Regions from separate parts of the Homo sapiens genome. Here region 1 is linked to region 2. The links are contacts of gene promoters, found by promoter capture Hi-C in human tissues and cell types (Jung and others, 2019). All regions are on one chromosome and are shown on one strand. Each heading gives the region's core, a stretch centred on a gene start or on the middle of the fragment in contact. The rest is flanking DNA. Distances are from core to core; before and after follow the strand shown.

Evidence for each region. Contacts are between HindIII fragments. The study calls those that stand out against the background at their distance.
Region 1: a fragment that was not itself captured here is called in contact with the fragment with the promoter of OR13C4 in region 2 in 2 of the 25 tissues and cell types used here (liver and small bowel).

What each region holds. Positions count from the first base shown.
Region 1 is chr9:104,578,062-104,583,811 of GRCh38, reverse strand. All of the region lies in intron 3 of LOC107987105 (a long non-coding RNA gene), which reads left to right. Among named protein-coding and RNA genes, the nearest start is that of OR13C8, 12 kb to the right of the region's middle. The HindIII fragment of the contact is 3,489 bases long and covers 2,674-5,750 here.
Region 2 is chr9:104,525,515-104,531,395 of GRCh38, reverse strand. OR13C4 (olfactory receptor family 13 subfamily C member 4) reads left to right here and starts at 4,187. Exons shown (of 1, transcript NM_001001919.1): 1 at 4,187-5,143. The coding sequence starts at 4,187. The coding sequence ends at 5,143. LOC107987105 (a long non-coding RNA gene) reads left to right here. Exons shown (of 5, transcript XR_007061705.1): 5 at 1,064-1,185. The HindIII fragment of the contact is 5,847 bases long and covers 1,105-5,881 here.

The DNA of each region.
Region 1 (5,750 bases), core at 3,169-5,668, 52 kb before region 2:
GTTCCATCCATATGATAACTATGTTGTTTTATGTCTCAGGCATAGACCAGATTTACATTGTAAAAATATTAACTGATTTTTCCAAAATGGATTATTAAAGCTATGTCTCACAGTTCCCCCCTTATTCATTCACAAAATATTTATTTAATACCTGCTATGGGCTAGACTCTGTGATCAGCCTTGATATAAACTTGGACATGGTAGAAAAAGATAGGGTCATAAATTTTAAAGATAAACATAAGTAACTTTATATTACAGGTTATAATATTTCTTCTACCTTTACTTTTAATTTGCATCCTTTTATACTCAACACTATATCACAAGTAATTTTTTACATATTATCAAATACTCAGGGAACACATGATTTATAAAGGCCACATAGTATTCTGTTCTATTTATATCTCAAGCTTTATTTGATCTATTTTCAATTAATGGGGATTTATCTTCCTTTCATTTCTTTACTATTATAAACAATTCTGTAATAATAATTATAACATTCTTTAAGGGGGTGTTTCTATTGTTTTGCATAACCTTAATCACCTCAATAATGAATTATGAAAGTAGAGGTAAAGATAATTACATACATACTGAAATACAATCATACCAGTGAAATAATCAAGTTCTACATAATTGGATCTTAGAGGTGGAAATTATCTTAAACCTAGTCCTAAACCTTATGAGATGACAGAAACACATCTACAGTATGGCTGGTGACTACCTTACTTCTGCCTGCAGACCTAGTGGTGATTAGAACACTTCCTGAGGCCACACAAGTTATTTTTGTACAATTCTAATTATTAGAAAGTTATTTACAGTCAACTATATATATTATATATCTATAGGTATAGATATATAGATATGTTGATATATAACTGTCTGTATGCAACTCTTTTTCCCTGTAGAACAACAACAAAAAAATACAGACTTTTCTCATGACAGCTATTTTTTCTTTTTTTTTTTGAGACAGAGTCTCGCTCTGTCACCCAGGCTGGAGTGCAGTGCTGTGATCTCAGCTCACTGCGACCTCCGCCTCCCGGGTTCAAGCAATTCTCCTGCCTCAGCCTCCCAAGTAGCTGGGATTACAGGCGCTCACCACCGTGCCCAGCTAATTTTTTTTTGTATTTTTAGTAAAGACGGGGTTTCACCATGTTGGCCAGGCTGGTTTTGAGCTCCTGACCTCGTGATCCTCTCACCTTGGCCTTCCAAAGTGCTAGGATTACAGGAGTGAGGACAGTTTTTTTTTGTTTTTTTTTTTTTTTTTTTTAAGTATTTACAGATAGCTGTTCCTGTCCTGGTCTGGTCTATTGTTCTATGTTCCTTCAGCCATTCTCCATGTGTTTTTAAAAAAATAATTAAGTACTTGTATTGCTGAAGAGACTATTTAGGAATGTGAGGTTCTCTATGATAAATAAGGACCCCTCCTATGCATACTGCTTGTGGTTACTGGTTTTACAGGACTCTATGGAGCAAAGCACTCTCTGTCATGTAAGAGTTAAGAATGAACTCTTTAAGAGCACAGATTCTGGAATTAGCCCCACTTTGTCAAACACTGCTTCTATGATCTTAGGAAGGTTACTGCACCTCTATAAGCTTCAATTTCCTCATATGTGAAATTAGAAACTTAAAAATGCCTACCTGATGTTGTTATCCTGAGAATTAATGAGGTTATGCATATGAAGAATTTAACATCGTTATGGAGGCATAGTAGATACTCAGTAAGAGTGCTTGCCACTCTTCTAATTATATTGATTAGAAAAGTATTGATGACTGTAAATATGCACCTTGCTTTTACAGAAGGAGAATGACTTTGGAGTTGGAAATACATGGATTAGGACCTCAGTTTCCTGATTTGTAGCTTGATGACCTCTAATAAGCTATAAAATTAGTGTTATAATAATCTTGCAGGACTGTTATGTGGTAAAGTTTAAAGGGTGATTATCTTGATTCTTGGCATTTAATAGGAATTCCTTAAAAAACGGTTAACATTGTTACATTTGATTATAAATCAGTGAATCTGAGTATAGTTTGCTTAATATTGATGCCAAAAATAATCACTTTCAATTGATTTTGGTAAATAAAACAGACATGAAATCATTTTGTTTCAGTATGAAGTTATATAAATCAGTGGAAAGAATATCAAAATGAATCACTGTTTCCAAAGAATGAAATCTATTCCTGATGAGTTGAGAAAAATATGTATTGCTTCTAATAGACAAAATTATAAACTTATTGAATTTGATTAAACAAAGTATTAGCAAGTTGTCTAAGATAATTTCATCTAAATTAGAAGAGGCTCTTTTTTTTTGGTAAGTGTATTCACGTCAATGTAGTTCAGCAAGCACGTTAGTAGGCACAAAGATGAGTAGGACACAACTCTGACGAGTCCTGAGTTCCTGCTTATTATGGCATTACTGTCAAACTCATAGAAGCAGAGGTAGAATGGTGGTTGCCAGGGGTTGGGAGTGGGGAAAATGGGGAGGTATTGGTCAGATGGTACAAACTTCCAGTTATTAGGTGAACAAGATCCAGCCTGGGCAACATGGTGAAATCCCGTCTCTACAAAAAATTAGCTGGGCAAGGGGGTGCATGACTGTAGTCCCAGCTATGGGGATGCTGTGGTGGGAGGATCACTTGAGCCCAGGAGATTGAGGTTGCAGTGACCCGTGGCTGGGTGACAGAGTGAGCTCCTGTCTCGGAAAAAAAAAAAAAAAAAGATGAACAAGATAACTAAAGTACAGCATAGGTGGTGATGGATGTGTTAATTAATTTGATTTTGATAATCATTACACAATGTATACATATATACCTTGAATATATTCAATCTTGACAATTGTAAATAAGATAAAATGGCATTTTGCATCAGCTTCCTAACTGGTCTCTCAACTTCCACTATTCCCTTCCTTCAGTGTATTTTCCAGGTAGTTGCATGGCAGATATTCTCAAAATGTGATACATTTCAAACCACTACTCTGCTTATCAGCATGTCATACCAGCTGAGATTTGTTAAATGATTGATTGTTGCCTATGTCTTACTTCTTAATTAAAAAATAAATCCCTGTCAGGGCCTAGTTTCGCAATCATAGCAAACTGGGAAATGGTCACAACTTGGTGTCTTGTGAGAATACTCTTCTGGACAGTGAAATTTGTCTCAAAATGAGAGAAAATGCTACAATCTGACTACATGTTCTTCTTTTTCACATGCAGCACAGGTTCCTATAAAATAAACCAGAAAATGTTTGAGAGAAGCATGGCTCATACTTCCAAAGCTCAGGACTGTCATTCCAGCAACATTCACTAGTATGTCCTAGAGCCTCAGCTCCCTAAAAGACCTGAGCTCTTTCAAACCAACCCAATAGCCAGGGCTGAACTAGAGCATCATGCTTCTCCTGGAGCTCTGCGTGAAGTGGGGGTGGGTGAAGAGCATAGTATGGCAGAAACACTGGAGATGGAAGGTCAGCATGGTCCAATTCCCTTCTCACTGCAGATGCCTGTGTCAAATGCTACCAGATGTCAAAGGGACAGATACAGATACATTTTTAGTTGCGATTGGTGCTAAATAATGTTAATAATGGTATAATTATTTGAGACATTCAAATTTAAGTTCTCAAATTTCATCACAAATTTGAGCAATCATGACAAAAAGTTAAGCAGCATGATCAACCCTTGAACACTTGCTCACATTTGTGTTATATTCAATATAATATACTCTCAATGAAGCATCTCATAGATACTTATGATACAACCTCTGCTAGAAAGCTTGGGTATCCTCACTTAATAGAATATCACCTATATAGATTCAGATGAATAAACAGTTTGTTGTTTGGGGGTGGTCATAGTTTCCACAGTGATTCTGAATCAGCATGATGGATAGTCAGATTACAAAGGCATGCTGATTAGTATGATCATTTACTTACCATTCTTTGTTTATTTGCCAGTCATCTTACTGGCCCTGTGCTCTTACTTTGTGCCATCTTTAAGTGTCTTTGTAGATTACGTAAATCAGAGTTGGGAAAAAAAGTCTTAATGAATCCTATCCTTGGTGCTGCAGGATTGTCCTTTATATTGTTCCATCCCATGGCTGTCCTGGATATGTGAACAGTGCAGGAGAAAAAACTCTCCATTCCAAAAGTTGGATCCATTCTATTTCCTTACAACTCTAATTCTTTTTTTTTTTAAATCATAACATTAATTATGTAGGCCCTGAATTAATTTCCCAGGATGAAATTGAAATACCTGAATAATTTAATGTATTCTGGGGTCACAAACTCAAATATCTTCACTGCTATGCAATTGATGTATTTGAATGAAACAGACTGGATGTGAAGCAATATAGAAGGGTGAGGACTGTGGCAAATCTCATTAATTCCATGTGACCAAACAAAATACATGTGTTATCATATTCCCTTTCTCACTAGTTTGTGACTCTATGTCTCTATTGGAATAAGTCTTCTTTAGCCTGTCTAATTACATTTTCTAAATGACTTGGTGATGGCAGTTCATAGAGGACCGCTCTCTTTACCAAGAATAAAGTGATTATCCATTTTAAATTTTCCACATGATGATCTCATACGCTCCTTTTTTATTGTTTAGTTACAACTAAAGAGGAGAAATCAATCTCCTAGGAACAGCCCTAGATTCCCTTCAGAAAACTTGTGGAGGGAAGAGTGTTGTTAAAAAGTTACAAGTTCACTTTAACAAGCTTGACTTTAGACTGTTAGCAGGCACGTGGGATATCATCCCTATGTAACCTATTTGTACCAGAGAGAAGTAGGTCAGTCAGCTTTTAATGATGTCCTTTGAGATGTAGTTGCCTGCTCAGGTGTAAATATTAGACTGTGTTTTATATTCCTGTGGGAGAAAATTACCAGGCTAGAGATAACAAATAGAAAAGAAATGGTCTTCCTGAGTTGGTTGGCCTGTCTGGAAGCACTCTGTTTTACACGGTTAAAGGTCATATAGAGCTGTACATTGTCATTATCTATTTGCTACAGAGGTGGATAGAGAGGTCTTGGCAGGTCTTTTAGCAATCAGAAAAAAATGGAGCGCTACGGTGCGGTAATAAGAAGTGTATGAATTTTGGAATCTCTTTAGTTGCACTCCACCCTCCACAGTGTGGCTTCCTAGCTGTATGACCTAGGGCAATTCATATAACTTTTTTGGACTACCTGTTCTTTATTGTGTAAATTATGTATATCTTCAGGTTTTTATGAGGATTAAATGTATTTGTGACATAAATGATGTCTAATGTGTTCCCTTACCTGAGCTACAGAAAACATAAGTCACTGAAGTGGTTGTTTCATTTTTAATTAATTTGCAACGAGGAAAAGTCGCCTTCTTCGTTTTCCCATTTCTCTAGAAACCTTATGGATGTTGGTCCAGAGACAGTCAAAATAATTTCCTCTCTAGGCTCAGCAAAATAATTGCTCTATCGTCTTTGTTTAGAGTCCTACTGATCTTGACAACTTTGGACTTTTCACTGGTGTAGAGTTTCCTCTCCAATATGCCCAAGAGGAACCATTTCTGAACTCATTGGGTCAGAGTCTTTCTTTCTACACGGGTATCTCTGATATTTTTGATGTTAGTATCTCTAATATCCATTCTTAGAGTTAGGTTAGTCCCTTTGGCTTTGGAGGCTCTTCATTTTGTGATCTCTGAGACTACATAGCCATGCCTCTTTTTCCACCCCTTGGACAGCCTGCTTGCCTCTCTTTTAGTGCTTGTATTTCTTTCTTCTTTAGAAGGTGGGGTGA
Region 2 (5,881 bases), core at 2,938-5,437:
TCTATTTCCAGCACCCCTCTTAATTGGGTCTGTGGGACACTGTCCCTAACGCACCAGAAGTTTCTCCATTCCACAGATCTCTCACTCCAACTTTAAATTGCTTTGCGAAATGGGGAACAATTACAATAACTGTTGCATAACAAATATGTACTGTTCCACATCTATGGAACCTGACATCTTTTGTTGAACCTGACTTTAATTCATAATGCTGACGTAAATACTAGGAAATAGTACCTGGTTCTTCTAGGAGGGAGACATAATTTATCATTGTAAAGGTAAGTCCTGAATACCATGAAACTGTACCTTTTATATTTATAATTAAAGCTATTATTACATGTGGATTTATGGTGTGAATATCATTAGGCAATACAGCTATCAATGTGGTATTATTATCAAATATGGCTATGATAATAATATTATCATTATTATGATCTGCATAGTGCTGGTTAATCCATAAAGCAGTTTCCATATGCTAGCTGAATTTTTTCTCAAAACAAACCTGTGAGAAAAGTAGGGCAGGTATTTCCATAACTATTTAACAAATGAAAAACGAGTTACATATTAGAAGAAAAAATAACCTCAAAACTAGGATTTTTGTTTCTGAATCCCAAGCACTTTTTAACTAGGCTAACCCCATGCCATATCTGTTCAAGTGTGAATTAGGTGATGCCTTTATACTGGCAGTGCATAAACCAGTTAATCTCTTTATAAGTTGGCAGCTTATTAGTACTGACAGAAAGATATATTTTCTGTTTTTTTTTTAACAGATTACTTGCTGCAAATAAACACTTTGTGCATATTAAAGTTCTGAACATTAATCTGTAAATACTGCACAGGGAAATTGCCTAAGAGCCTAGAAAAACCCATCTATTATGTGTAGCCACCGTGTTAGGCCATAGGTGTAGAGGAATGGGCAAGACAAGCAAGCTCCTTCCCCATGTCTCGTGTTATCTCACAATACATGAGAGAACCAATTTAAAGAGCTGGGATAAGAAGAAAACCAAGGGTAGCAAGACAGGCTTGGCTTAAGGTGGATTGAATTGGTGAGATAATTTCTTCCTAGGAGGGGAAGGCTTGGAGCAGATGGCAGAAGAAGCTGTTTAGGTAGCCTAAAATGCATTGTCATTACATTTGTCTGGAAGGCAAAGCCTGGGCTGGAGATCTAGGCGGGATCTGGCACATCATCACCACCTTTCCTGGTAAGTTATTATCTTTCTGTTTTCTTCCGTTTGCTTTCATGACTGGGCTGCTAGCGTGTTGATGTTACTTATCCAATGCATCCTCAAAGGATTTCTGTAGCCTGCTTGAGAGAGAATTTTGACCTATGCTACGAAGTACTGTAGAAAGGTTTCACAGCAAATAGACTGTTCTAAGGCATATGATTCAATCCCACAACCGTGAACCTTCTTCCATGATGAGAAGTACTAAGTCCTCAAGAATTAATCATTCTCCTTGTACATTTTTAACAGACTAAAGTTTCACCTTTATGAACTCCATTTATTATGTTACTCACTGACTGTTCTCTGTTGTTGACACATGATTTCTATACAGATTTTAATGCTACCTTTTAGAGAGAGAAGTAGTGGAAGGAGAATGGGCTTTGGATTTTGCCTTTGCCTGTGCTAGTCATGTGACCTCAGCCAGGTAAGCAAATTTCAAGCACAGGATCTGGCACATAGAAGTCTGCAATAGAAGTTGTTTAAGTGATTTTATTCACTTAAATAAACAAAAAGCATTTGTTTTTTTTTTCAATAGGTACTTCTAGTCTTAAGCTGAGGAAATATAGATTTAAAATTTCTTTGAGGCTTAATTTTCTCATCTCTAATTTGGAGATCCAACATTTATTTGTGCTTCTCTTAAAAGTTCAGATGTTCTACTGGTATTCTTTAAACTGTTTCTGAAGTGAGAATCCCTCTGTCTGGTTTGGCTTCTGACTCCAAGACATCACACACTGTAGAGAAATTTTTCACTTATCATCACATAACAAACTGAATGTTAGAGTAGGGGTTGAGCCTCTGCAGATATTCTCAAAACTGTTAGCCCACGTGAGCCCTAAACCTGCAATTTTGGTTAACCTAAAAACTGGAGGTTATGAAAAGATGATGATGGGCTGTGTGTGTGTATGTGTGTACCAGGCAGTAATTGATAATAACCTAATTAATCTAAGCATCTTAATTCCTTGTGTCACATGTCTATTCAAAACCTCATAAAATCAAATTATATAATGTCAGGTTTGAAAGGTAGCTAAAGTTACAGGGGCTAAGCAATCACCTTGTGCTGGGTGTTCTTATCTAATAATAAGTCCCTTACATACAAAAGGGAATGCCATTTTTTTTCTTCCTAACCTTTGGGCCCTTCTATATGCCTGCCTCATTAACTTTTCAGTTGTGTTTCTGCTGAAACTCCCCTGGTACTGCCAATCTGCTCCTCTAAAACATTAAGCTGCTCTCCCTTCTGGAATAGCCCTGTTTCTCTCTTCTCTTCCAAACCTGCCCCATTCCTTTTGTGCTTCCAGACCTGGTATAACTTTGAAATTCTTTCAGGACCCTCACGTGATTTATTTATTTCTCCTTTACTTCCTCCTTCTGAGGTTACTTATAATATTCACCCTGGCCACATGATATAATAATATTCTTTATCAAATTGTTCCATGTGTAGTTTTTGTGTTTTTGTTATTGAATTATGAACTTTTTGATGGTAGACATGTTGTGTCATACTTTTTCCACCCTTACTTGTGTTGGAAGAGGACTGTGCTCAAGTTAGGAAATCAGTAATATCATACCCATATTATAGCAGTCCAGCAAAAGTTTATCCTGCTTTCATAAAATGTTTCAATAGCATTTATTTTCTGAAGTATACTGAACAGCAAGATGTGGCCCTGGAGTATGCTGGCAAACACAAAAGAATTAGGCTTTCAGTCATTTTCCAGGTTGTTAAGCCAGTCCATATAATAACACAAAAGAAAATCTATTTGGATCAGAAATCTCTGGATACTCTACTAAATCACTATAGATAAACCAATGTCTTGCTACACAAAATGTGCCCTCATCTCAGTGGTTCAACATACCCTGGGAACTTAATAGACATGAAGAATCACAGGCCTTGCCCCAGACGTGCTAACATAAAATTTACATGTTAACAGTATCCTCAGGTGATTTATGTGCATATGAAATTTGAAAAATTGAAATTCCATCAAAGCTAAAAATTTTGGATAGTACTTTGCGAAAACAAGGTAAAATAACTTTTGGTGTTGCCATCCAAAGAGCTGAGCTTTAAGTTTCCCTTTGTACATATAGGCCACATTCTGTCTTTTACATTTGAGAAAAGCAAATTAAGGATAATGAGAAGATTCATTTGCTTTTGTAAAGTGCTGCACACACATACACACAAATATGTTTGACTATTATTCCTCTTTTTTCAGGTTTACTTAAATGAATTCTCAAGATTAACTCTGAAGCCATGGTAAAACAAATAGAGATCATGTATTGTTCTCCAAAGATTCTCCATCATATACTTGTAGAGCTGGTCTACACCATGATCTTGTCATAGGGAATAACAAAATAGTAAGAGTGGGATGTTAGAATGAGATCAACAAATAACTTTACCTTTGAACAGATGTTAAATTGCAGTGTGTGGGGCTCAATTTACTATTATCAAATATCTTCCCTATAAAAATACACATTTATCTGACTGGAAAGACATTCAGAGTTTTAGGCAGACAAACAAATGTATGTGAACATCTAACCTGCTTTAAAATTCTGAACATTTCTATTAAACGCTGGGTCAAAATTCTGGTTCTTGTTGAGTTGTCTTTTTTCTTCTTTGCAGCTCTCTCACTGGGCTTGACTAAATGAAGAAGTTAGGTTTGTTGTCTGCAATAATCTAAGGCTTTTAGAAAACTCAACTTGGGATGTCCTCAACAATAAGAAAAGTTGTGTCTGTATTTACTTCTGATCCTAGGTAGATCTTCACATATTAGATACAGGGCATAGAAACTCTAAACATCCTAGTGTGGCTGTATTCTAGGCACAAATACTATTGAAGATAACTCAATGGCAGAGCTTTAAAACAAACAGTCTCTATTTCACCCTAGAGTAATGTTTATTCAAGTTATTTTTTACATTTGTTGCTTGGCTGTGAAAATATTATACATTGGGTCTTCCTTTGGCATCCTGAAAGCTGGGACATGGACAAGATAAACCAGACATTTGTGAGAGAATTCATTCTTCTGGGACTCTCTGGTTACCCCAAACTTGAGATCATTTTCTTTGCTCTGATTCTAGTTATGTACGTAGTGATTCTAATTGGCAATGGTGTTCTGATCATAGCAAGCATCTTGGATTCTCGTCTTCACATGCCCATGTACTTCTTCCTGGGCAACCTCTCTTTCCTGGATATCTGCTATACAACCTCCTCCATTCCCTCAACACTGGTGAGCTTAATCTCAAAGAAAAGAAACATTTCCTTCTCTGGATGTGCAGTGCAGATGTTCTTTGGGTTTGCAATGGGGTCAACAGAATGTTTCCTCCTTGGCATGATGGCATTTGATCGTTATGTGGCCATCTGTAACCCTCTGAGATACCCCATCATCATGAACAAGGTGGTGTATGTACTGCTGACTTCTGTATCATGGCTTTCTGGTGGAATCAATTCAACTGTGCAAACATCACTTGCCATGCGATGGCCTTTCTGTGGGAACAATATTATTAATCATTTCTTATGCGAGATCTTAGCTGTCCTAAAATTAGCTTGTTCTGATATATCTGTCAATATTGTTACCCTAGCAGTGTCAAATATTGCTTTCCTAGTTCTTCCTCTGCTCGTGATTTTTTTCTCCTATATGTTCATCCTCTACACCATCTTGCGAACGAACTCGGCCACAGGAAGACACAAGGCATTTTCTACATGCTCAGCTCACCTGACTGTGGTGATCATATTTTATGGTACCATCTTCTTTATGTATGCAAAACCTAAGTCCCAGGACCTCCTTGGGAAAGACAACTTGCAAGCTACAGAGGGGCTTGTTTCCATGTTTTATGGGGTTGTGACCCCCATGTTAAACCCCATAATCTATAGCTTGAGAAATAAAGATGTAAAAGCTGCTATAAAATATTTGCTGAGCAGGAAAGCTATTAACCAGTAAGATCAAAGGGATATATGGGTCTTTTATGTATAATTAGCTTGCCTTAGCCATTTGACAATGTACATATGATATGGTTTGGCTGTGTCCCCATCCAATTCTTGAATTGTAGCTCCTATAGTCCCCATATGTTGTAGGATTGACCTGGTGGGAGGTAACTGAACCATGGGAGTGGGTTTTTCACATGCTGCTCTCGTGATAGTGAATAAATTTCATGAGAACTGATGGTTTCATTAAAAGCACAGTTCCCTTGTACCTGCTTTCTTGCCTGCCACCATGTAAAATGTGCCTTTGCTTCTCCTTCACCACCCACCATGATTGTGAGGCCTCCTAGGCATGTGGAACTGTGAGTCCATTAAACCTGCTTTTCTTTATAAATTACCCAGTCTTGGGTATTTCTTCATAGCAGTATGAAAATGGACTAATAGAGTAAATTGGTAACAGGTAGTGGGGTGCTGCTATAAGGATACCTGAAAATGTGGAAGTGACTTTGGAACTAGGTAATAAGCAGAGGTGGAACAGTTTGGAGAGCTCAGAAAAAGATAGGAAAGTGTGGGAAAGTTTGGAACTTCCTAGAGACTTGCTGAATGGCTTTGACCAAAATGCTGATAGTGATATAGACAGTAAAGTTTAGGCTGAAGTGGTCTCAGATGGAGATGAAGAACTTGTTGGGAACTTGAGCAAAGGTGACTCTTGTTATGCTTTAGCAAAGAAACTGGTGGCATTTTGCTTCTGCTCTAG